7 separate regions of the Homo sapiens genome follow, and all the other regions are linked to region 3. Evidence: promoter capture Hi-C in 16 types of primary human blood cells and fetal thymus (Javierre and others, 2016). All regions are on one chromosome and are shown on one strand. Each heading gives the region's core, a stretch centred on a gene start or on the middle of the fragment in contact. The rest is flanking DNA. Distances are from core to core; before and after follow the strand shown. Region 1 has its middle 87 kb from the start of TRI-TAT2-1. Region 2 has its middle 33 kb from the start of TRI-TAT2-1. Region 3 holds the start of THADA (THADA armadillo repeat containing). Region 4 holds the start of PREPL (prolyl endopeptidase like). Region 5 overlaps MTA3 (metastasis associated 1 family member 3). Region 6 overlaps LOC112268413 (a long non-coding RNA gene). Region 7 holds the start of HAAO (3-hydroxyanthranilate 3,4-dioxygenase).

Evidence for each region. Contacts are between HindIII fragments. The CHiCAGO score rates a contact against its expected background, and 5 or more counts as called.
Region 1: a fragment that was not itself captured here is called in contact with the fragment with the promoter of THADA in region 3 in 1 of 17 cell types (erythroblasts); the score reaches 5.3 in erythroblasts.
Region 2: a fragment that was not itself captured here is called in contact with the fragment with the promoter of THADA in region 3 in 2 of 17 cell types (M0 macrophages and M1 macrophages); the score reaches 6.0 in M0 macrophages.
Region 4: a contact is called between the fragment with the promoter of PREPL here and the fragment with the promoter of THADA in region 3, in 5 of 17 cell types (activated CD4 T cells, total CD8 T cells, naive CD8 T cells and 2 more). The highest score is 9.5, in activated CD4 T cells.
Region 5: a fragment that was not itself captured here is called in contact with the fragment with the promoter of THADA in region 3 in 1 of 17 cell types (monocytes); the score reaches 6.0 in monocytes.
Region 6: a contact is called between a fragment that was not itself captured here and the fragment with the promoter of THADA in region 3, in 2 of 17 cell types (total CD8 T cells and M0 macrophages). The highest score is 6.7, in total CD8 T cells.
Region 7: a contact is called between the fragment with the promoter of HAAO here and the fragment with the promoter of THADA in region 3, in 7 of 17 cell types (naive B cells, total B cells, monocytes and 4 more). The highest score is 13.1, in naive B cells.

The regions. Positions count from the first base shown.
Region 1 is chr2:42,895,689-42,899,275 of GRCh38, forward strand. No RefSeq gene overlaps it. Among named protein-coding and RNA genes, the nearest start is that of TRI-TAT2-1, 87 kb to the left of the region's middle. The HindIII fragment of the contact is 1,780 bases long and covers 1,305-3,084 here.
Region 2 is chr2:42,841,504-42,845,084 of GRCh38, forward strand. No RefSeq gene overlaps it. Among named protein-coding and RNA genes, the nearest start is that of TRI-TAT2-1, 33 kb to the left of the region's middle. The HindIII fragment of the contact is 7,163 bases long and covers 1-3,581 here.
Region 3 is chr2:43,593,951-43,597,656 of GRCh38, forward strand. It overlaps THADA (THADA armadillo repeat containing), which reads right to left and starts at 2,088. Exons shown (of 38, transcript NM_022065.5): 1 at 1,981-2,088. The HindIII fragment of the contact is 4,194 bases long and covers 1-2,948 here.
Region 4 is chr2:44,359,763-44,363,201 of GRCh38, forward strand. PREPL (prolyl endopeptidase like) reads right to left here and starts at 1,732. Exons shown (of 14, transcript NM_001171613.2): 1 at 1,618-1,732. It overlaps CAMKMT (calmodulin-lysine N-methyltransferase), which reads left to right and starts at 2,185. Exons shown (of 11, transcript NM_024766.5): 1 at 2,185-2,383. The coding sequence starts at 2,246. RefSeq lists enhancers at 1,104-1,998, 1,375-2,574, 1,811-2,280, 1,999-2,892. The HindIII fragment of the contact is 3,162 bases long and covers 1-3,082 here.
Region 5 is chr2:42,748,387-42,752,194 of GRCh38, forward strand. The region is part of intron 16 of MTA3 (metastasis associated 1 family member 3); the gene reads left to right. Among named protein-coding and RNA genes, the nearest start is that of OXER1, 14 kb to the right of the region's middle. The HindIII fragment of the contact is 3,542 bases long and covers 510-3,808 here.
Region 6 is chr2:42,961,253-42,964,644 of GRCh38, forward strand. The region is part of intron 2 of LOC112268413 (a long non-coding RNA gene); the gene reads left to right. Among named protein-coding and RNA genes, the nearest start is that of LINC01819, 77 kb to the right of the region's middle. The HindIII fragment of the contact is 580 bases long and covers 1,467-2,046 here.
Region 7 is chr2:42,790,312-42,794,054 of GRCh38, forward strand. It overlaps HAAO (3-hydroxyanthranilate 3,4-dioxygenase), which reads right to left and starts at 2,272. Exons shown (of 10, transcript NM_012205.3): 1 at 2,146-2,272. The coding sequence starts at 2,225. RefSeq lists silencers at 2,119-2,558, 2,739-2,838, 2,919-3,008. The HindIII fragment of the contact is 4,290 bases long and covers 2,046-3,743 here.

The DNA of each region.
Region 1 (3,587 bases), core at 945-3,444, 700 kb before region 3:
TTTCACGGCCCAGTCCCTGGGTGGCATTGTGTGTCACATGTGTCATGTGAAGGCCTAGCTTAGAGCACTTTCCCAGACAGACCCCAGGGCTGGTCCTGGTGACCCTGATGTATCCCATAGTTTCACTCTGGGTCTGACTTGCTCATAAACATCTCCACTCTCAACTCCCAATTCGCAAGCAAAGGGCCCCATTCCTGGGCAGGCCCACCTGCTGGCCGTGCTACTAATTAATGACTGCTGATTGGCCCAAGAGGTGCACTCATTATGCCCAATAGAGATCAAAGCCAGATCCAATCATCTGCTAAACGAGATGTCAGATTAGGGCATTCTTCTGGGCTATTAGAAAGATTTTTCTCCCTGTGTAAAGGCCTGTCAGGGCATATGACCCTATCACCCGCCATGAGCTGAGCCGAGGGGGCTCTGCAGCCTTTCTGTTCCTCTTACTTTGAATGTGTCCTTTTAATGGGACAGCCCTGTGCCAGCAGCCTGGGCATGATCCCTGGAGAGACCACAAAGCGTGGAGGGGATCCCCTAGGGAAGTCGTGTTTCGGCAGTCACCTCTGCCTCTTTATTCTTGGGGTTGCTGGGTGATTAGAGGGAACTGCAGACTTCCCTGGGACCCTCTGCTTTCCGTTGTATCATGGACACTTGCCTCAGTTTACCCCCTAGGGCTGGGGATCAAGTTTAATGTTGATACCACTTTCTCAGGAGCTAGCCCCAGACTGACACTCATTTCAAACCATTGGTGCACTAGCCTGACTTTCTCAACCCAAGGGTAAGAATAGAGCCCCAGTTTTATTTATTTATTTATTTATTTATTTTAAATTATTTTTGGAGACAGAGTCTCACTCCGTCACCCAGGCTGGAGTGCGGTGGCACAATCTCAACTCACTGCGATCCTGGCTCACTGCAGCCTCCACCTCCCGGGTTCAAGAGATTCTCCAGCCTCCGCCTCCTGAGTAGCTGGGACTACAGGCGTGCAACACCACGCCTGGCTAATTTTTTTATTTTTAGTAGAGACGGGGTTTCACCATGTTGGCCAGGCTGGTTTTGAACTCCTGGCCTCAAGTGATCCACCTACCTCGGCCTCCCAAAGTACTGGGATTATAGGCGTGAGCCACCACGCCTGCGCAGGGCCCCAGTTTTTAGTGTTCATGCTAATAGCTATTACTGGTTACCATTGATCAAATGCAGAGTGTATCAGGCATTCTGCTAAGTGACTAAGTGCTGATTTTATTTATACTGCCTGAAAACATTACCAGTTAGGTATTATGAAAACCTGCTCTAATACACCAGGAGAGTGAAGCTTAGTCATTCATGAGTCACTCAATTTAGCAGCAGTTTCTGGGCTAGGTCCTGACTGGCTGAAGTCAATCAGCATGTTGATTGGCTTAGAGACAGGCAGATGGCCTAATTTTGGCCAGTGAGGGAGAACAAATCACAAGTCCTGTAAGGGAGACGTTGGAAAAGGAACTACATCTTCCTGGATGGTGTGATGTGAGGATGGTAGGTTTGGAGCTGCTGAAGCCATTTTTCTTTCACTGGTGAAGCATCTGGGCTGTTGCAGGGAGGGGTAGCATGGGACCACGTGAAGCCAACATCATGAATCTTTGGAAACATAGTTTTGGCAGGTGGACTGAGTTAAACTAGATGAGTGAATACATTGCTTTGATTGTTTGAGCTGGGTTGAGTTGGGCTTTTGAAACTTGCAAGTCAAAGACCCACACACGAATCAGAGACTGTAGCCCCTGTCCTGGAGGAACCACACCTGCCCAGTAGGTCTGGCCCACAAGAGGTAGCCCTGGAGTGCACTCACCTGGGAAGTCGGGAGACTGTTGAAAGCAGGTGCAACAGTCACCACTTGTCCTGATGGCTGCTGCTGATCAGGGCATGTCTGTGGACAACTGCCTGCTCTGCCAGCCTGATTGTGGCCTGATCTGTCACCTCTGCTTCTCAAGCCACACTTTGCCTGATCACCCATGGTACAGACACCCTCCTCCATCCTGCTTGGCCTAGTTAGGGTGCCTGGATCCAGCCCAGGCCTGGCTTAGCCCTCTATGTGGGTTAGGATTAGGTTTGACTGCAAGAAGTTTGACAGTGACTTAAACAAGAGAGAAGGCTATTCCTTTCCCACATGACAGTTCTAGAGGTAGTAGGATTCGGGCTGGTGCAGTAACTCAGCTCCACAGAATGCTCATTTGTACCTTTACTCTTTCTAGATCAATCAGCACTGCCAGCAATTTGTCTATTTTATCAGTCTTTTCAAGAGCCATGTTTTGGTTTTGTTGGTACTCGCTAAGCCCATTTTCTATTTCATTGATCTCTGTCCTTGTCTTTATTATTTCTTTTATCCAACTTTATTTAGGTTTGCTTTGTTGCTCCCTCCTCCCTAAATTCTTGAGCTGGACACTTAACCCTCTACTCGTTTTCTTACATGTGTCATAAATGAAGACTGCAATTTTCCCTCTAACATCTCTGGAACTGCATCAAGAAATTTAGAAATGTTGCTATTTTCATTATTGCTCAGTTCTAAATATTTTCTCATTTCTTAAATGTTTTGAACCAGTAAGTCTTCCTCTCTCTCTCTCTCTTTGATACAGGGTCTTATTCTGTTGCCCAAACGGTAGTGCAATGGCAAAACATCAGCTCGCTGCAACATCCACCTCCCAGGCTTAAGTGATCCTCCCACCTCAGCTTCCTGAGTAGCTGGGACTATAGGTGCATGTCACCATGCCTGGCTAGTTTTTCTATTTTTCATAGAGATGGGGTTTCGCCATGTTGCCCTGGCTGGTCTCGAGCTTCTGGGCTCAAGTGATCTGCCCACCTCAGCCTCCCAAAGTGCTAGGATTACGGGTGTGAGCCACCGCACCCAGCCAAGTCTTCCACTCTTTGCCAAGGGTTTCCCTGGGGATATCTTACTTCCTGCACCATCATCCTTATAAGTTTTTCACCAGTCTCTTGTTTGCCCCATCTGTTGTCACTATCTCAGGCATCTGTGATGCTAAATAGTTGCTGCTTATTGTTTTCTACAAATACCCTGAGGATAGGATTTTTTTCCTCGGTACCTGGACTATAAGACCAGTAAGCTTACAGGTTGTCCGTGTACCAGAGGTAGGTCCCCCCAGGCCCCGACTCTGCCGTCCACCTGGAGTATAGTCCTGCCTTTATGTGAATATCTTAACTTTAGCCATTTGCTCTCTGGTTATCAGGGCCAGTAACTCCCTGCCCCCACCAGTCTCTACAACATCACTCACCACAGTTAAAATTTTGATTTTTAGTTACTTCTTTGTTTTTTCCTCCAGATTAATTCTGTTTACTTTCTTGAAAGCTCAGCTTCGCATTTAAAAAGATGTAATATTTTACTCAGTATTTCTAGAAGAATGAAAGACCTCATTTTCTTAATGAATGAATTTATTTCAAACATACAGAGAAATAAAGAATCATGTAACAAAAGCCCATCTGCCTACTTCTTAGCTTTAAGAATGTTTACATTTAATCACATTTAATTTAAAAAATTGAAAGGAAGTAATGGTATATCTGAGGTCCCCTTTATGCCCCTTCCTTATCTCATACCCCTCCTTCTGTCT
Region 2 (3,581 bases), core at 465-2,964, 750 kb before region 3:
AGCTGAAGATGGCCGCTGCCCCTTGCAGCCCAGAGTCCTCCCGTGTTTCCCAATCTACCCTCCCAAGGCTTCTTAGAGTCAGCTGGAAACCAACCCTGGGAGAAAAGAGAGGAGGGGCTGGGAAGGCTGCTGGCTGCAGGTCCTGGAGGCCTTGCTGTCTGTCAGCATGAGGCTGGCCTTGACCCAGTGTCCTTGGAGCCTAGAGATGTGTATGGGTCACACCTGGGGCCATGATATACCTGGTGGGCTGGGGCCTTTCCTATGAGGCTCAACCTCCTCTGTCTCTCCCTCTCTCCCTTTCCCTCCATGTGTCTTTCCCCTTCTCTCCCTCCTGTGCTCTCTTTCTCCCCAGCCTAAATGAGGTCCGTTAGACAAACCTTGACACACCAGACTCTGAACACCATAAGTCTGATCATGTTCCCTTTTTTTTTTTTTTTCAAGATAGGTTCTTGCTCTGTCACCCAGGCTGGAGTGCAGTGGTGTGATCATAGCTCACTGCAGCCTTGAACTTGCTGGCTCAAGCAATCCTCCAGCCTTGACCTCCTAAGTAGCTGGGACTACAGGCACACACCACCATGCCTGGCTAATTTCTTATTTTTTTGTAGCAATGGGGGTCTTGAACTCCTGGCCTCAAGTGATCCTCATACCTCGGCCTCCCAAAGTGCTAGGATTATAGATGTGAGCCACCGCACCTGGCCTCAATCATGTTTTTAAGAATGTTTGTTGACATGAAACTACCCGTGATATATTGTAGAGAGAGGAGAGCAGCTCACCAGACATTAGAGACAGGGCGAGCTCAGTTTTCTAACTAGCTCTTGCCCCTGCTCCCCAAAAAAAGACAATGTAAATCATACAACACAGATTCATAAAATATATATATATATATATATATATATATATATATATCTCACATGTATAATAGTGTCCTCTTCCTTTCAATTTTGCCCTTTGGGGTCTAGGCCCAAGTCCCTGGGTCAAAGCCCTCTGAAGACTCAAGGATGGCAGATCCAGCCCAAAGCAGAAATACATTTCAAAGGCTGGCCTGTTCCTCCTCCTCGCCCACTATGGCGTTTGTCACTTCCTCCCCTGGGAGTATCTGGGGCCCCAGCCTTGGGAAAAGATGAAGCCAGAATTGTTGGATCAAAGTCCCAGCACATAATAAAGGCATCTCCCAGCCCCACCTAAGGACATGATCATGTGTGTTTGCTCACACAAACAGCCGTGGGCTGGCCCACCAGAAACCATCTCTTGTTACAAAGCCAGAATCTTTTCCATCTGTGTTTAAGCTGCAGCCCATGAAATAATGTCCATAAAAGTAAGATTGGAAGTGAACATAGTGAACGCAATAAATTATGGCTACACTGTGTTCTCTCCGGAGGGACGCCCTGGCAAAAGAGCCTTCAATATTTCTTTTTTCTTTTTTTTTCCTCTTTTTTTTTTAAATTATACTTTAAGTTTTAGGGTACATGTGTACAACGTGTAGGTTTGTTACATATGTATACATGTGCCATGTTGGTGTGCTGCACCCATTAACTCATCGTTTACATTAGGTATATCTCCTAATGCTATCCCTCCCCGCTCCCCCCACCCAAGCCTTCAATATTTCTATCTAGCACTGTGTTGTGTGTTTCCTCAGAAAGCATTCCATTTGTGGATGGGAAGAAAGGGCCTAGACGGCTGAGGTTGATCCAGTAGAGCTGTGGTGCTTGGCTGGCTGTCCATGCCTGGCATCTTAATGTCTTTTCCAAAGCAGAGTTGTTCAACTGCAAAGTGTAGCCAGGGGGAGATTGTCTAGGGGAAGATTTGTTGGCCAGTTTCCATTACTACCACCATCTTCCTTCTTGCAGTTCAACCCCACCGCCACATCCCACCACGACCACAGGCATGGATCCAGACACCACCACCAACATCCTCTGCTGATTCCACGTACCTACCATTGCCCAGGCCGTGAAGAAGCGTTTGGGAGGAAGGGAAACCTGAAAGAGTCACAGGACCACAGACCTGAGGGTTTAGAATCTCAAGGGGGGTATAGGCCAGATAAACAAATAAATACAGATAACTTAGAACAAGAAGGAAAGTCATCAGTTAGGTACTGAAAAGTTCTCCCCAAGTTCAAAAGAGGGAGGATGAGTCTTGCTGGAGAAAGTGGCTTTTGAATGGAACTTGGAAGGGTGGCTTGGATCTGGACCTGGAGGAAGAAAAGGCCTTCTCAGAAAAGGGATTGATTAAGGGAAAGCATGAAATTGTAACACATGGGTGAGGATGGAATTCATGGAATTCCTGCACCCTCAGGTACATGAGGAGCAGTGAGGGAAATCAGGCTGGAGGATGGGTGGGATGGGCTGGGGAATGTAATGGGTAAAAGAAAGAGCCATTCAGTCTAGGGATTTGGGTCTTTCATGGGGGAAAGGGGAGGATCAGCTGACAGTTACTGAGCTGAAAGTGGACAGAGCTGGTTCAGGAGCTAATCATTGTAGTGGGATCTTGGGGCCAGGGAACATTCCCCTTTCTACACTCTCTTCCCTAAAAAGATTGGTTCAAAAATCCCACAGAACTCTTGAGTGTTAGCCATTTGCTTTAAATCCTACCATGTCATACCTTGTCCTTTAGGATTATGCATTTGTGATAGAGGAGGGCATGGGAGAATGAAACACGTGTGGCCGTTTCTCTATTACTCAGACCTCAGGGCAAACAAGTACATCGGAACTTTTCTGAAGGGTGGGCTTTGCTTGGGAGAGGTGGAGTGTGAGGGTGCCAGGGCACTTGTTGGGTTGGCGGGCACCCCAGGAAAAAAATGTAGCAAGGACACAATTGTGGGCATGCCCCACTTTTTTTTTGAGATAGGGTCTCGCTGTCACCCAGGCTGGAGTGCAGTGCTCTCAGTGTCACCCAGGCTGTGCAGTGTCACCCAGGCTGGAGTGCAGTGCATGGCTCACTGCAGCCTCCACCTCCTGGGCTCAAGCGATCCTCCCACCTCGGCCTCTGAAAGTGCTGGGATTATAGGAGTGAGCCACCGCACCCGGCCTGCTTTGCCCTTCTTTGAGAGATCAGCTGGATGTGGCTCTGAAGTGTTCAACTCAGAGGAGAGAACTCCAGGACTCAGGGCAAAGGCATCTTCAGGAGCTGATGGGAAGCCCAGGCCCCCTCGTGCCTGAATGGGTGGACAGGGCTGGAACCACCTTTCATGGCTTTTGTCCTGGGTGCTGAGGGTGATGCTGTGCTCACCCCACTTTCCTATGATTCTGATGGGAACCCCTGGGCTGCATCAAAGAGGCATTTCCAAGTTCTTTGCAAAACTTTTCTTGACTTTATTTGACAGCCCAGCCCCCAGTGCAGTGACATTTCCTCTTCTTTCTCTCTGGGCCGGGTGAATGTGAGTTCTCTGTAGTGGGGGAGAAACGGACCAGTTGTCCCATCGGGGCTTAGCATCGACTCTCTTTCTCTGGCAGATGTTTAGGATTTAGAACTTGGATCTCTCCCTTCACCCCACCGAGCACAGAGCGTGAGTCCAAGGAGTTGGGAGCTCTGGGAGAAAAGGGGCTTGTGACCCTGGCCTGCCTTGTTATTCTCTGAGGACAGGC
Region 3 (3,706 bases), core at 838-3,337:
TATTAGATTAGTAAAAGTCAGTACAAGCTACAGGGAAACAGATTCCAGATCAATACAAAGGAAAAGCTCTATGGTCCCACTAAGGACTGGGCTACCTTTTAAACAAAGAAATTTTCCAACACCAGGAATATTCAAAGAGAAGATGACTGAATATTTTCTCTTGGACTCCTGAAACAGCTCCCTAACTGGTCTCCTGACTTCTACACTTACCTCCAAAGAGCCCATTCTGTTTACAATCATCAAAGCAATCTCTTTAAAAAAAACTCTCATCAAATTGAATTACTTACTCTCTTCCTTAAAACTTTCCAAGGGTTTCTAAATACACTTAGAATAAAATTCAAACTTGAGGCCAGGAGTGGGGGCTCGTGCCTGTAATCCCAGCACTTTGGGAGGCCGAGGCGGGTGGATCTCCTGAAGTCAGGAGTTCAAGACCAGCCTGGCCAACATGGTGAAACCCCGTCTGCACTAACTAAAAATACAAAAATTAGCCGGGTGTGGTGGCAGGCGCCTATAACCCCAGCTACTCCGGAGGCTGAGGCAGGAGAATGGCTTGAACCCAGGAGGCAGAGGTTGCAGTGAGCCGAGATCGTGCCACTGCACTCCAGCCTGGGAGACAAGAGCGAAACTCCATCTCAAATAAATAAATAAATAAATAAATAAATAAATACTTGAGATTTTGCCCTTCAAGGCCCTAAATAATCTGACCCTGCCTTCCTCCACTCTTCATCTCAAACCAATCTCCTCTTCACCATCTCAAGAGCTTTGTACTTCCTGATGCTCTTATTCCCACCTAAGAGGCTTTACACTTCTCAGTATCTCTGCCCCTTAATGTTCATTCCACATCTTTGCAAGACTGACTCCTTCTCACCATTCATGTTTCTGCTGCAACATTACCTTCTAAAAGCCTTCCATGACCACTCTATCTAAAATCTCACCAATACAACACACGTAGACACCATTTCCGTTAATTTTCTTCATAGCACTTACTAGTACCAGAAATTACCCTAACTTGTAAATTTGTATATTGTCTGTCTCACCTAGTAGCAAACTGAATGAAGGCAGCAACTTTAATCTATTTTGTTCATGTTTCAAGTCTCAATTTCCAAACCAGTGCCTGGCACATAGTAGGTGTTTAACAAACACTTCACGAATAAACAAATTAATTAACAAACATTTGTCAGAGATGTTCTAGAAGGGATATATGTCTTTAAGGGCAGGAAGGTGGACTATCTGGTACCTAAAATGCATTCTACATCTAAGTGACATTCTACATCTTAAGAACCTATGGTCTGTTTGGGAAGTAAGAAATCCATACAGTAATGGCAGGTGAGCAACCACTTAACCAAAAATGGACGCAGCTAGGAAAGTGTCGACAACAGAATAATTTGTAAAGGGATAGTCAGATCTAGAGGAATAGAGGCACGCTTCCTAAGAAAGTGACCATCGTACAAAGCCAGAAGAGACTGGGAAACCTAACTAGGGAGACTATTCTCTGGTGAAAGGTAAGCAAGTTTGCAGGAGGATTTGCTCTTGCAATTCTGAGGGCTACACAAAAGCAGACTCGGTAATTATGCCTGCTCAAATGATGCCTAAACGTGTGTCCTGAAGAACCAGGGTCCCCAAGGGGGTAAATCCCGTGTCTACCGCAAGGCCAGAAGGTGCCCAGTAAATTACACTCCTCCTAGGTCCCACTTACTGCTTCCCTTTAGAACGCTGCTTCACTCTACACCTTCCTGGCTGACTCCCACAAACATTCTCTGGGCGATTTCTGAACCACGTGGAGTCGAGGAATGACAGTGGGAGAAAGTGGTTAAAGTGCTGTCTCCATGGAGACCTTAGCGACCGGAAATCAGTTTCACAGCCGCCGAATCCTGGCGATACCAAAGGATGGGAATTGGTGTGGCTCGCCAGGCAGCCCTAGCAAAACTGGCCGAGCCGAGCTACCGCGGGTCTGGCAGGCAGGACACCTGGGAGCCAAACCTCGTGCACGTCGGCGTCTGAGAAGAGTCGCAGGCGCCTGGTCCAGTCCCGGAAGCAGGTCTCCTTCTACGGCGTCTCCGAGGCTCGCAGCGCGGTCCACGGTCGACTACCGGGTCAGGGCAAAGGGAGGGAGAGAGGGGTAACCTGGAGGAGTCATCGCGAGAATTGACCAAACGCAGCTCCTCCAATCAGGAGTTCGAGGAGGTCGTGACGTCACCGGGGTGGCCGGTAGCAATCCGGTTTAGTTAACCAGCCACTGTACCGTCAGCGCCGCGCGTTCCTCATGGCGTTAGGGCTGACGGGCCTTGTTGCTGAGGGGCCTTCATTCAACGGTCTCTTGTTGAATGAAAAGACCTCATTCTCTTCACATGCTTGGACGCCTGGGAAGCGCTTTTCTCCCAATCCAGACCTTCCACCTTTCTCCCACTCTGTTGGCCCAGTGCAGAGTCTAGGAGAAAACTACGTCTGGGACTCGGGAACGAGTCCAGGGAGTTTAGAGCCTGCGAGATGGGGCAGGGGTTTGGGCGGCGACTGAACGGAAGCCACGAGAAGGATTCGGACTAAAATGAGTAGTGCTGAACCAACGTGTGCCAAAGCGCATATATTCATTCAATAGATAATGAACTCTACTGTCAGAGCGTCGCCAAGCGCTAGCCTTGAAAGCTATCCCCTACTGAGGATACATGTATTACGCAGCACATACAAATTGTCAGATGGTTCAGTCCTTGAAAAATAAATACAATAACGGGGTGTCACTGGGAGCTGCGACAGTGGGCAAGATCAGGAAAGACCTGATGCTATTATCAGGAGTATTAATTTGGAAAATAGAGACATTTCAGTTCTCTAAACGTTAATGACTTAAGTTTTTAATAATTATTTTCTGAATTTTTTATATCAGCTTGCCTTGGTTTTCTTTATAGCTTTACCACATAATGTATGTATCACTATCTTGTTTCGTTCAATTTTGAAGCTTTTGGAATTGCGTATGTATTCTCCAGCAATTTGCTTCTTTCAGCATTGCTTTTCATATTCACCTACAGGTGGCTGTAGTGCTCTTCGCCCAGGCTGGAGTGCAGTGGCGCGATCTCGGCTCACTGCAAACTCTGCCTCCCGGGTTCAAGTGATTCTCCTGCCTCAGCCTCCTAAGTAACCGGGATTACAGGCGCGCGCCACCACGCTCAGCTAATTTTTGTATTTTTTAGTGGAGACGGGGTTTCACCATGTTGCTCATGCTGGTCTTGAACTCCTGACCTCGTGATTCGCCCGCCTCGGTCTCCAAAAGTGCTGGGATTACAGGCGTGAGCCATGGCGCCCGGACCGTAATTTTCCATTGTTTAATATACTTCATTATGTATCCATCCTGCTGCCTCTTAACATGTGCATTATTTCCAGTTTTTGTTCTAAACATTGCTGCTGTGAACTATGTTGTGCATGTCAGCTGGTGAGTGTGTGCAGACGGTTCTCCACCATAATTTTTTCTGGTATTTTTGACCCTGACATAGTAAGAAATACATTGCAGACTTTGAAACTGTGGACGTAGAAGTACTCACACATAACTGAAGTAAAAATTTCTTGAAATGCTACTTTACAGGAGCTGTGAGATTTTATTTCCTTTTTTTCTAAATTATGGTAAAATACACAGCAAAATTTACCATTTTAACCATTTTTAAGTTTTATGTTTTTTAAAATATGTATATTGTTTCAGACCTACTAATTATATAACTCA
Region 4 (3,439 bases), core at 482-2,981, 770 kb after region 3:
GAATGATTTTATAGGTATGATTACAGAGTAGTGGGTTCTCAGAGTAACTAAGATCAGCAGTTCTCATCCCTCCTTTTCAGGGCCATGCCCCACTTAGGTTATGAATAACTTCAGACAGCTGATAACTTAGGCTAACTAAATCTAAAAACCTGTGTAAGTTAAAGTTTCATTCAAATCATAATTCTTGGCAGATGTGACTTAAATGTCTCATTTGTAAAGTTAATCCTATCAGGCTCAAACTATGCAGCACTGACTCTGGCACACATAGGGGTTAAACTAAAACAAAAAACAAAACAAGAAACAAAATATAAATTTGCAAATAAGTACACAGACTTAATGGGGTATCTCAGGAACTCAGGGCTGTAAAAGGTAAAAAGCCCTTTGGTCTTACATAATTATGAACGTATCTTTGGTATATATGTGGAAGATAAACTGGAAAAGCCTAATTATTTAATAAAGGTGGGGGAGGGAAGATTAATTATTGTTGAGTGTTAACTAACTGCCAGGTGCTTTTATCTTGTTTGTCTAATTTAAATTTTATATGGACTTAATAAAGTAGATATTACCATGCACATTTTACAGGTTGCCAAACTGTGGCTGTGGGAGGTTCTAAGCAACTGTTCCAGGTCACTTGTACAGTAAGCTGTATAGCAAAAAATCCAATTTGGTTCGGTTCCAAATACTGGACATACTCAACTTCGGATTTTTAATGTTAAAAAGGTATTTAGCGCTTTAATTAAAAACAACAAAAAACCCCTGCAAGATGCACAAATAAAATGTAAGGCCATCTCTGGTTTGTCAGGAGGTAGCTTTTATTAACCTTGATTGCTAATAAGTAGTTAAGAGTCAGAGAGACCTGGGTTGAGGTCTTAGCTCCTACACTTAACTGTGTCTCCGGGCCTCAGTTTCTTCATCTGCAAAAATGAAATGACACCATTTACCTTCTAGGGTTGTTGTTGTAAAGACAAAATGAGACAGCTTAACATTAAGACCATACAGTGCCTGGCACATAGTGACCACTCAATAAATGGCAGTTGCTATTATTTACGACAGGAATAATCTAGGTATGTTGCACACCGCTGAATGTCATTATGGAAGTCTTCCACAAAATGCCCCCTGGTATCAAAGGTAGAATGCTGCGTCAAATTTACCATAGATCAGATGCGCTACGACGCCCCCGCCCCCCTTAATCCCTTTCCATGTCGCAGCAAAATAATGGGCGATTGGGGGTAGGGGAGCAACACTAGTTTACTAGCCGACACTAGTAAAAAAAGGGGAAAAAAGACCCGAATAACAAGGACCTGCAAAGGTCCTACATCACCACGTTCCCACAGCCTTTATCCATCCATCTTTCATCCCCAAGAAGACAGTATGCAAGGCTAGGATGGGGGTGGGGTAGATAAATGGGTGTTCTCAGGAGAACCTATTCGTTTACCCCGTGCAACTCTCCACCCCAGGGATGAGGCGATCTGAATGCAACAGGGAGAGGGACCAGGTGACACGCACGCAGTGCCGGGACATTAGTCAAAAAGCGAGGACCTGGGGACTGAGGGGTGGGTGGCTGGGCGGGGGGAGAAAGGGGAGAAGGAAAGAGACCAGCACACCCCCCATACATACGCAAATTGAGAGAATCAGTCCGGCTCTGGACACAAACCAGTGAAGGCAGGCCGGAGAACCTGAAGCTCTCAGAGGGGAGCAGGTGTCACCGCAGGCAAGTCCAGCCGAAGTCTGCGTTCCGCAGCCCACAGAACGACAACTTACCCAGAGCCGCCTAGAGCTGGTTTGCAGCACGCCAATCTACGTAACCTCAATCTAGCACGAGCAACAGGCAGATTTCGCCATCTTTGTTGTGGTCAAGGAGTCTTCTTGGGTTCCTGGGTTCTTTAGTCTCGAAATATATAAGACTTTTCGTTCTTCGCTAGTCTTCTGAGCTCGAGATGAAGCACAGAAGGCTAAAACAATGAGGGACAGCGTTCCAGTAGCCCTGCCACAGCTCTCTCATCCTCTGGTCCGCCCTCACTCAAGATGGCTACCAGCAAGAATGGTGCAATGGCGTGACAGCTCGGCCCTGGTTGCCAAGGAGATGCGAGTACCGGAAATGCGGAATTCGGGGAGAGCGCGCATGCCTGGTCCGGTGGAGGGAGGGTGCCGGGCGTCACAGGTCCTGACAGGGAAGAAGTTGGCAGGTCCTGGCAGGGGACGAGCTGCGGCGGTGGCACCTCCGGGTGTGGAAGGCTCCAGTGAGATGGAGTCGCGAGTCGCGGACGCTGGGACCGGCGAGACCGCGCGAGCAGCGGGCGGGAGTCCGGCAGTTGGCTGCACCACTCGGGGGCCCGTAGTCTCGGCGCCCCTGGGAGCCGCCCGGTGGAAGCTCCTGCGGCAGGTAAGGGAGAACCTGCTCGCCTCACCTTTGCCTCTGGTCACTCCTCTCTCACGTACCGGGGGAGCGACTGTTCGCAGTTCTTTCCTCTTGGCAGCTCTGGGAGACCCTTCTCAGTTTGCCGGGAGCCACCTGCGAAGCTCCCCCTCGCTTCACCTAAGCGTCCCATCCAAGAGGAGGAATCATGTGGGGTTGGGTGGGGAGCGGGACAGCCAAGGCTGAGCTCCTGGGAAACTCAGATCGAAGTAGAAGAACCCCTTCTAGACATTTTTGTGCGTCTGGGGGACTTTTCCCCTTCTCGCCAGTCTCTGGTGCGCCCGCCGCTCCCCACTGCTCTTTTCCTGCTTCTGTTTTGCCTCCTTCCCCAGTTTCTTCTAGCTTAACTCCCAGCCTGGTTCGAGTTACCGATATTCGTCTGCACCCTCTGGCCCCGTCTTTTGCCCAGCGTGGTTGACTATGCCGGGACTGAGACACGGCATGCGTTCCCTCGGCATCTTCCGTACAGCGGAGCGTGCAAGGAGTAGGAAAAGCTGATACCCTCTCTCACTGAGGTCTCAAAGTTAAATGATTATCTTGTAGTTTGTAGTGATCAGCGAGATTCTCCGTGTCCAAGGTGGGCTAGTCAAAGTGTGTTCGTTTTTGAATGATGGTATCTTCTGGTACTTCAAAGTTTCTGCTGTTACTTACAACTCCACTCGTGCAAGCTTGACGGAAGTTCTGATTTATGATCACTCACATTCTTCGCTCACTTCTTGAAGTGAAGTCTGGTTATTGTTTTTGCATAGCAGTGTTATGCCTCTGCCTGAAGTTTTCTGCCGAAAACTTTACTCAGGAGGACATTTTTCCATTTCTGACAGTTGTGTTTGGAAAAGAGTTTCCCAGCTATTGCCACTTTACTTGAGATTGTGCTTTTAGTATTTTGGGGATCACTTTGTTTGCAGTTGCCTTGAGTCACCTTTTCATACAGTGGTCTTTTAGTGCTTTTAGAGTTATGAGTTAAGTAGATCATCAGAGTTAATTAAGATTTATTTGCTGATACATTGACAGTCTTTCCAGACC
Region 5 (3,808 bases), core at 1,031-3,530, 850 kb before region 3:
TGGAGTCATACAGTGTGTACTCTATTTGTCATTTTGGATGATTTTTAGAGTTCTATCATCAAGTTCGCTGATTATTTCTTCTACAGTATCAAATCTACTATTAGTCCCATCCAACACATTTTTCATTTTAGATTTTGTATTTTTCAGTTTTCAGATTTCCAATTAGTTATACTTCTAAAATTGCCCACCTTGTCACCCATTATATTCGTCTTTTTCTATAGATTCTTTAGCGTATTTATAGTAAATATTTTAAGTCCATACCTGCTAATTCTAACATCTGAATTATCCATTAATCTAGGGACTGTTTTTTCTTTTGATTACGGGTTGCATTTTCTTGTTTCTCACTGCGCCCAGCCAGTCCAATCATATTTAAATGCATACTGGGTCAGTGTGAATGATGAGTTATAAAGACTCAGGATTCTGTTATTTTCCTTTGCAGAGTGGTAAGTTTTGTTCTAGCAAGGAGTTACATTGGTGGATCACTTCGATTCTGTGGAGGCTTGGTTTGAAGCTTTATTAAGCCTCACATATTTCAATTTTGCCCTTAGTCCGATGGGATTTCAATGGAAAGACCAAGTTGTTTACCAGGCCCCTTTAACTTCACAGAACTTGAACTCCAAATTCTGTCTTCTCAGCACTGGACAGCTCTTGAAGTCACTGCTCGGCTCCTTGAGCCTTCTAGCTGATGTTTTCCATCGGGCTCCTGGGAATCTCACCCTGTACTTGCATAGTTCAGAAATAAGCAAGTAATGTGAGGGGAGTTTGTATGTAGATTTGAGGGCTCCCCCTTCTGTGTCTCCTTCCTCTGCAGGATCTCCTCCCTCAGTTTCCAGCTGCATTGGCTGCCTCAAGCTCTGACCTCTGGTTCCTCAGCCTAGTAGACTGTAGCTTTCTGCCTGAGCTATATTCATCTCATACTGCATGAATGTGCTCATGGGGAAAGACACTTAAGAGTGGCTCTCACTTTGTCTCACTTTTTCTTACTTTGTCTCTCTTTTTTCTAGGTTCATAACCCCTCCAATTTTTACCTGATTTTGGTTGCTCTCTAGTACTTTCAAACAGTTGTTCTTTTTTAAAAAAATTATTTTATTGTATTTTTGAGACAGAGTCTTGCTCTGTCACCCGTGCTGGAGTGCAGTGGCATGATCTCGGCTCACTGCAACCTCCGCCTCCTGGGTTCAAGCAGTTCTCCTGCCTCAGCCTCCCAAGTAGCTGGAATTTCGGGTGGCCACCACCATGCCTGGCTAATTTTTGTAGTTTTAGGAGAGACAGGGTTTTGTCGTGTTGGCCAGGCTGGTCTTGAACTCCTGACCTCAAGTGATCCTCCCACCTCAGCCTCCCAAAGTGCTGGGATTACAGGCGTGAGTCACCACACCTGGCCTCAAACAGTTGTTCTTTATATTTCGTCCAGAGTTTATCACTGTTACTGGCTGGAGGGTTAGTCAAATTAGCCTACCACGATAGGAAGCAGAGCTCCTCAGTCCTTCTATGTGCTTCCCCTCCTGTTTCTCTCAGTTAAGAAAAAACAACATACTATGTATGTTTCATAGATACTGTATTTTTTCTTCCCTGAGGATATTAATGATAGTGGCTTTTTATTTTTATTTTATTTATTTATTTTTTTGAGACGGAGTCTCACTCTGTCGCCAGGCTGGAGTGCAGTGGCACAATCTCGGCTCACTGCAACCTCCGCCTCCTGGGTTCAAGCGATTCTCCTGCCTCAGCCTCCTGAGTAGCTGGGATACAGGTGCGCCCCATAACACCTGGCTAATTTTTGTATTTTTAGTAGAGACGGGGTTTCACTCTGTTGGCCAGGCTGGTCTTGATCTCTTGAACTTGTGATCCACCTGCCTTTGCCTCCCAAAGTGCTGGAATTACAGGTGTGAGCCACCACGCCTGGCCATGTTTTTTGTTGTTTAAGTATTCTTCTCTGTTTCTTCTCTCTGTTTCTTCCAATTTGTACTCTTCTGTTGATTATGTGTTATTTGGTCTCTAACACCTGCTGTTAGAGGGTCTTTGTTTTTTTTTTCCCTGGTGACCTTTGTTGTCAAACAATGTTTAAAAGTAGGAGACTAAAAATCAGAGTGAAAGCTCTGTGCTTGTTCTTGGCAGAACCTGTAGTGCAGTTCACTGTAGGGTGATCAGGTTGGCCTGGTGTTTGGACGATAAATGCCAGTTTCTTTCGATATTTTCTCATGGGCTTGTCAGATTCCCCAGAGAAGTTTCTTCCTATCTGTTCCCCAGAGGATAAATGTTTGTTACCTGCATTCTGAGAGCTTCATGGGAAGAAGGCTGGGGGCTCACCATTCAGTAGACATAGGTTCACTTGATCTCTCTCTGTTATAATTGTAGCCTTGTCCTTAGCTGTGCATGGTGCCTCGTGTCCCCTAGGCCTGAAACGGTTTTGTCCTCGTCAGAGAATAAATATCTCGACTGGTGGGACGTAGACAGTTGCCTGGTGGTATGGAGTTGGGAGAGCTTCTTGGGATCCAGCTGCTTCTCAAAGAGCCTTTAACTCCTCTTCCTTGCTTCAGTCCCCTCCCCTACTTCCAGAGGTACCTGGTGTCATTTCATGAGCCTTTGGGGTTCTCTAGACAAATTGGGTACTCAGCTTTCCACACTGAACCTTCAAGTCTGTCTGTCTTGAGTGCATAGTCTGTTATCACTCATTTATCTGCTTTCCAGCTTCTAAAATTCTGTGGTTTCTTCTCTGATTTTCAGAAGGAAAGGAAACTAACTCAGAAGCCACCAGCTAGCTGGCTGGATTGCTTTCATTGGATTGGTTGATTTAAGTGCAGAATCTCCAAGTCCATGGACTTCAAGTACTTCTGAGTAGTCAAACCATTAGGGAAAATTTTGCAAAAAACAAACAAACAAAAAAATAAGTGCCTGTCAGTCAGGGCGAGTACGTACCAAAGTGGCAAATATAGGTTAATACATTTGAGAATAAATAAACAAAAAGAGAAATGATTTGGGCTACATCATGGTCTAGGAAGGAGACTGAGAATTGATGTAGACATTTTCCTGGGGCTCTCTGCCTGTGCTACTGTGCTGAGTCTCTGTATCTGGCTCTTGTTCCTGCTCCAAGGAAATGCAGAGGATCTGGGGAAGCTCTGAGCAGAGGAGAGTGAAGTGATAACCTTGTAAGGGCAGGTGGTAAGTACTGGGATTCTTCAGCCCAGAATACAGAGAGGTGGCCTGTCTCAATTGAAAACCGTGGCCAGGGTGGAGAAGGCAGAGTGGAGCCTGGGCACCAGAACCTGAGATGCTAGGAGGAGAGGGTTGTTTCTGAAACCGCAGCAGGCAAGTTTGGCACAAATAAAAGCACAATTTACCATGGCAGGCTAGAAACTTGGGAAACTATTAAAAGCAGCTCTTTTGATAGGTGGTTTAATTCCATAAGGGTTTAGACAGATGAATGACAGAGCTCCTGCTCCACTAAATACAAAAAGAGAGAGTGGCTCCTAGGAGACGCTGACACTTACATAACCTTCCATTTAGACACTGAGGAGGTCAGGATGCTCTTACTGGGCTGTTAGCAGAACACTGGGCTGGATGGAGAATGAGCAGCTTGGTGTAGTAGGAAAAACTTGACACAAATTAAGGTCTACATTCAAATCTTGACTCCTCAGCTTACTTACTGTGACCTTGAGCAAGTTCTTAACCTTTCTGACACTCCCAAGATTCTGCTGAAGGTTAAATAAGGTAGTTACATAACCTACAGTATGTTCAATAAAGCAAGGTTAGCATGATTCCTAAACTGAATTTATCTGGGCCTTTATTTAACACATACTTGCTGAGCTCATAT
Region 6 (3,392 bases), core at 507-3,006, 630 kb before region 3:
CACTACAGGGCCAGAGTGGGACCCTATGCCCCAGGGTCTGAATTTCTGGGTGGAGCCCCTGGTAAATTCAGCACTACTTTGCAGGGAGCTGGGACTCAATGTCTCTGGCCTCCTGCTTGGTTCTTCCCGGTTCGCATCTCTGGCTCTCTTTGGCTCTTTTCTCTCCAGGTCAGCCAGCAGGCCCTCCTCCCTACCCCGTCCCCTCCCTCTCTCCCCACATCTTGGCTCCACGCTCTGTTTTCCTTTAGGACTTGCTTTCAAAGAGCACCAAGTTGGCCACTAGCGTCTCTGGCCTGGCCCACCTTAAAGCCTGACCCTGACTCATGGTCCTGGTCCCGACAGGACGTGGTTCACACCGGTTTAGAAAACTCTGGACGGCAAAGTCACAAACCATCTGCACCCTCTTCTTCCGCCCCAGACGTTATTTATGTGTGTGGCTTTGTGTTCGTTGCTAAATGCGGCCTGTGTGAAGGCTGTTAATTAACCCTTTGAGAAATGCGCTTCCCATCGGGGCAGGGACAGGAACAAGGAGCATGCTTCTAATCACCGAAGATTTATCCTGCTTCAGACGAGGCGTTTAATGAAGGCAGGGGAAGGGGCTGGAGGAGATGCCCTTCGAAGCGGTTTAAAGAAAGCCCGTTTTGTGCACGCAGATTGTCAGAAGGGCAGGAAATTCTAAATCAACTGTGCTCCTGGGCCTCAGTGAGGGGACAGGGGGTGCATACAGGGAGGGGGAGGGGGCCTGTGGGGTCGGGGGAGGTCTAGGGGCACAGGCCGGCTATCAGGAAGCAGGGCCAGGCAGCTCTCCTGGGATGAGCTGTGTAGTCACTCAACTCTTTGGCCGTCTGTAAAATGGGACCGCGTCTCGCCTGCCTCCTCCCTCCAGGGCATCCATGGAGGGGACTGTAGAACAGAGTTGGAGGAGCCGCTTATAATACAAACAGTCATCAAAGAGTGACCATGCTGTGGGTGCCTTGGGAGGTGGGTGGGGGTGACAAAGTGAAAAGAGGGACTTTCTTTCCCAGTGAGGGAGGGTGAGCTCTGGGGTCAGGGTGTTCATAAGCTTTCCAGGGGGCCCTCTAGTTCCTCACCTGTAAAGTGAGAGGCATTCTGGAATCTTCACAGCTGGCTGTAGGATTATGGGTTTCCTGACACTGAAAACAACCTTTCTTCCGAAAAAGGAGAAATTCAGTTTTGGGTTTCACTCCCCCTTGGTTTCCCAGCCCAAGGCGCATCACGGTTCCCACCCTTCCCAGATGCACTGAGGGTGGTACTGGCTGGAGGGGTTGGGGGAGGAGGGCAAGCGGGAAGTCCCAGGACATCCCAGCTGGGCGTGGGGGCTGAGGGACGGAGTGGGCCACAGAAGCCCGCTGATATTTATAACTGCGACTCTTTACATTCTGTATAAAGGCATGCCTAAAAAGCACCATTGAGGGAGGGCTCAGACGCCTGCCCGCACGCAGCCAAGCTTCCTGTCAAAGCCGAATGAGCTCAGAAAACAAAAAAATGTATTCACAGCTCTGAGTCTTCCCCGCTTCCCAGGCTTATTTCGTTTGAAAATACTCAGAGTTGGAGGGAGAAAAGGTAGAGGAAACAGAGTCCAGCCTGACTCCCTAGGGACCATGTATCTGCTGCAAGGTTGTGTAATCTCTCAGAGCCACACATTTGCCGACTTGTAAGGTGGTTGTGAGGAGGAGGTGAGAAGATAGGTAGGAAGAACAAGGTCAGCAGGAGATGCACGAGCGGGCTCCCACTCCATCCCCCTCTTCCCTCCTCCCTCCCTGTCCTCCATCCCTCGCTTCCACCCCTTTCTTTCCTCTCCCCCAACCAGTCTCTCCTGAGGTCTGCCATATCACCCTCTCTGCTGCATCCCTAAGATGCCCAGATAAAACCAACCTAATATCTTTCAATGATCTGCCCCAGACAGGCCCACACAATAATGAACCCTATGATGGACAGAACCCAGATATCCCTATTTCGGCCTGCCGCATAGACAGTGGAAGTGTGCGTGTTTCAAGTTTGTACTTAGTTGGCTGTGCCTTAGCAAGCTTCCAGGGATTCCCATGCAAGCTGAAGTTTGAGGACCATTGTACTGTAACATGCAAATGCTCCTGAAGCCTTCAGGGAATTCATCCAGAGGTGAGGATTGGGGAGGGCTGATGTTTCCCATTTGGAAGTAGCTCCTGGGGAGCCCTTTGCTAGGAAGAGCACCTGCTTCTGGCCACTTCCTCCCTCTCTGAAGCTTCCCCCAGTGCCTCTTCCCAGGGACCCAGGAAGCCTGCTTTCCACTCCAGGAGTCAGGATGGAAGCTGCCTCTGGGGTGTCCACACCTGTACTGGGTGTCAGGCTCCTGGCTCCCCTCATGGCGAGTCCACCTCATCCGTGGTGAGGTGGGGAGAGGAGTGAGAGGATGTCTCCAGTGTTTCTCAATCACAGCCCCCTGCCCCAGCTCCCCACCCCAGGAGAGTAAAGCTACTAGTGTCCCTGGCACCTGGTCTTTCCTAGCCAGGGCATGCGTCTCGGTAGAACTTTCTGTATTGACGGAGATGTTCTGTATCCGTGCTATTCAATACAGTGGCCATGAGCCACCTGTCGCTACCTACTGAGTACTTGAAATGTGACTGGAGGCCAGGCTCAGTGGCTCACACGTGTAATCCCCGCACTTTGGGAGGCCAAGGGGAGTGGATCACTTGAGGTCAGGAGTTCAAGACCAGCCTGGCCAACATGGTGAAACCCAGTCTCTACTAAAAATACCAAAAAAATTAGCCAGGTGTGGCAGCATGTGCCTGTAATCCCAGCTACTCAGGAGGCTGAGGTGGGAAAATCGCTTGAACCCGGGAGGCAGACGTTGCAATGAGCCGAGATTGTGCCACTGCACTCCAGCCTGGGTGACAGAGCAAGACTCCATCTAAAAAAAAAAAAAAAAAAAAAAAAAAGTGACTGGAGTGACTGAGGAACTGAAATATGAATTTTCTTTCCTTTAAATTCCTTTAAATTTAAATGGCTATGAGAGGCTTGAGGCCACCATATTGGACAGTGAAGTTCTAGGAGCTCCTTCGATGCCTTGGCCTCTGAGGCCTTCCTTCCCGACATCCTTGGCATCTGCTCCAGCCCTGTGGAGTCCTGTCCCATTACATAGAGGGGAAGCTGAGGCCTAAGAGAGGGGGTACTCTGCCATGGATAGGAAGCGAGGGTAGGACTGGACCCCACCCCCTCCTCTGCCTTCCAGCCCAGGCCTCTGGCCAGCAGCCCCATTCGACCCTGGCCTCTGGCCGAGGTGTGGGAAGTTGAATGTGATGAAACCCAAGACCCCTTGGCTGGCACCCAGCTGTGGTTTTGCACTTGAGCTGCAGAGCTGGGTGGAGGCGGCTGGAGAGGAGTGTCAGAGGATG
Region 7 (3,743 bases), core at 1,022-3,521, 800 kb before region 3:
CTTAAAGAACTTAAAGCTGCATAGAGCTTCAAGGAGGGGAGGGAAGCCGCAAGGAACTTGACTGGGGAAGAGTGTGCACAGGAGAGCTGGGTGCAGAGGCTCTGAGATTAGAAGCACTGGGGGTGAGCTTGGGGAACGATTGAGAAGGCTGGTCCAGGAGGGTGGACCAGCCATGGAGTCTGGTCTTGGCCTAAGGGGTGCTGGGGAACCTGGAAAGTTTGTTTTTTTTTTTTTTTTTTCAGATAGAGTCTTGCTTGCCACCCAGGCTGGAATGCAGTGGCACAACTTCGGCTCAGTGCAGCCTCCACCTCCCGGGTTCAAGCAATTCTCCTGCCTCGGCCTCCTGAGTAGCTGGGACTACAGGCGCGTGCCACCACGCCCAGGTAATTTTTGTATTTTTAGCAGAGACGGGGTTTCACCATGTTGGCCAGTCTGGTCTTGAACTCCTGACCCCAAATGATCCACCCACCTCAGCCTCCCAAAGTGCTGGGATTACAGGCATGAGCCACTGCGCCCGGCTTGAAAGTTGTTTTTTAAAATCAACTTCACTGAGATGTAATTTAGGTACATACAGACAATTCTTAAACAACTCCACTCAAGAATTCTTTCAACCCATCAGTCAGAATGCATAAACCAGACCTGCCCCTCCTCTGCCCAGAACTCTTCAGCAGCTTCTCACCTTGCTTGCTTCAGCAGCTTCTCACCTTGCTGAATAGTAACCCCTCCTGTAAAATTTATATGTTGAAGTCCTAACGCCCAGTACTGCAGAATGTGACCTTATTTGGAATAGGGTCCTTGAGATGTAGTTAGGTTAGGATGAGGTCATCCTGGAGTAGGGTGAGCCCCTGATCCAATATGTCTGGTGTTCTTTTAAAAGAGGGAAATTTGGACACAGACACACACACAAGGAGACTGCCTTGTGAAGACGAAGGTGGAGGTGGGCGTGGTACAGCAGAAGCAAGAATACCAATGATGCCAGCAAACCACCAAATGCTAGGGAGAGGCCCGGGCAGATGGACGCGAGACCTCAGGGGGAGCGAAGGGAGGACTGAGAAGGAGCGACTGCAGATGGGGATGAAGTGTTGGAAGGAGGCAAAGATGATGCTACATCTTTAATTGGGGGTGGGCAACAACAGTGATAGAAGAGATCTTTGGGGAGATATTGACTGTTGGCCATGTGGTATTGCATGGTAACCAAGAGTGTGCGTGGACTCTGGAGTCGAACTGCTCCGTGGGTTGAGTCTGGAGCCTATCGCACAGGCGCTCCGTGACACTAGAAAAGTTACTTATGAAAATCCCCCCTCACGGTGCTACTGTGAGAATGAGATGAGATGATGTAAAAACACTTGGCATAGTCCTGGGCCTGCTGTTTGCCTTGAGGTGCCACCCTACTGACCATGTCCTGTGGACACAGCAAAAATGGGGAATGTAAACCTTGATCTAGCTGGCATGTGGGGCCCCGCCATGGAACTGGGGGGATGAGGGAGGTGACCATACCACAGGGGAGGGCCTGAGAGGTCTGCCTGAGAAAGATGGCAGCTGGATGGCCAACCCTGTTGGGTGCTGCAGGCAGAGGCTACTGGCAGAGGTGGCCTAGGGAGGGTCTGGTGTGGTGTGTGTGTGTGTGTGTTCGTGCACACCTGCATAGAGGGGCCCTGAAAAAAGCAAGACATCAAGATCTTCCCAAAGGAGCGGATTCTCTGCCTCCCCCTTTGCCTGTGGCTTCTGGGACAGGGTTGGGGTGTATGATTTGGCTGCCCCCAGGCCTACATTCTAGTGCATTTCTGCCTTGAAAACCACCCTCCCCACACTTTTGAGTTTTCCCAAAATGCACAGTGTCACTTGGGGTTGGAGAATTGTTTCTCAGCCCTGGAAGGAGAGGTGCACCCTGTCATGTCATCTCCTACAGCCTGAGAACCAGCTCAGCCTTCTTCAGAAGTCAAGGCCACAGTCACAAGAAAGAGGAACAGACCGATGTGGTGGAACCGGAACAGCCTGTCTCCATCTTCCCCCAAGAACCAAGAGATTAAAGCGGTCCTTCTGCAAGCTTCTGGGTCCAGGAACTCGGAGCTGGAAGGTGAGGGCGCAGATGGAGGAGGGGGAGGAGGCGAGGGCAGGGGGCGGCCATGGGGGTGCTGGACTCACATGAGCTTGTTGCAGACCGGGGGCTGGAAGGAGCCCCGGTTCTCCTTCACCCAGGCCCTCACTCCCAGGCGGCGCTCCATGACTGTCCCGGGCGCCTCCTCGCAGCGCTGTCCTCCCGCCGTCGGAGGCCCGCAGCTCCGCCCAGCCGCCTTTTTAACCAGAATCCCAAGCTCACGAGGCGGAGCAAACCCCCGCGACCCCGTGGTGGGGGCTTGGGGCCCGCGGACTTTGCCCCCTGGTGGACTTTGGTCTGAGCCCGCCGCCCTCCGCGCCACTCCAGGCCCTGGCGAGCGCGGCGGCGGCAGCGCTGGGGAACGGCGTCCCGCGCCCTCTGCTTCTCCGCGGGGCAGGGGCTCGGTCCCCGCCACCGTCTCCGGGGCGCCCCACACACTGGCGCCTGCGGTGGGGCCTGCTCCCGGCGGAGGACAAAGAATCCAGACCCTTCCTGGACGCTTGTCCCCAGACGTTCCTTCCCTCTACGCCCCGAGGGGAATCCCAGGGAAGGTTCCCAGAAATACTACAGTGAGGAGATCGCGGGTTGGAAGTCCCAGCACCTGAGAACACGGTGCTGGCGCTGGGCTCAAGATTTGGCTTTCCCATCTGGAAAAGGGGAATGACTGCCCCGCCACTCAGGGCTGCGGCGCTCACCCAGCGGGAAGCCGCACGGCGGTCCCCGCAGGTCCCGATTCAAGGTGAGCCCCAGACCTGCTGCGTGCGGCCGGCAGACTCCGCCGCGGGCTCGGCGAGGGGAGCGGTGCAGGCGCCGAGCTGCGGAGCCCGGGCTCAGGGCAGGACCGCGAGCCCTCCCCACCTGAGGCCCAGCCGAGCGGCCGCTGTCCGCGCAGTGTCGCAGTGGACCCCGAGCCCCGTGCTGAACTCCTTAGGCGTCTTAGGAACATACTCAGTTCGCACGCAGCTATGGGAGGAATTTGGCAGATGTGGACACCGGCCTCAGTGTCCTAGCCCTCGGGAATCTCGGGGTGTTAATGATGACAGCCCCGTGTGAGAGACTCTAACAGTTATCCTGGGGGTGAGGGGCTGGGGCGCTGGGCCTGGGCGTGCATGTGTGAGGAAAGAGAAATCTGCGCGGGTGTGGAAGATGGAGAAGCCTGTCTTTCTGCAGGACTCAGAACTTTCTTAGGAAGTTTGGAGGGAGTGGGAGCTGACGGGTAGGGGAGGAGGAAAATGGCTCAGGCCCCTGACACCGGAATCCAGACTATAGAGTTTAAGAAACTAAACGCCTCTAAATCCTGCCCTCACAGCCCGCCTGGCCTGGGCTGGTTTTCTCAGCATTCCAGACATAAAGACTCCTCTAGTACAACTCAAAATCAAAACCCAGACGACAGGAAGCCGAATTCCCCACTGAGACCCTCCCGTTTCCTCTCTGACGCTCTTTTTTTTTTTTTCATTTTTCTCTCTCCTTTTTTTTAGTTATTTATCTAGCACAGTTTTAGCTGAGCACTTCTAGTGCAAAACTAGAATATCGTTTTGCACCCAAGTAACTCACACCACCTTCTTTATTTTTCTCATCTACAAGTAATCAGAGGAGACGTAAACAATGACACATGAAGCACTGAGGATCTGAGATGTGTTAAGTT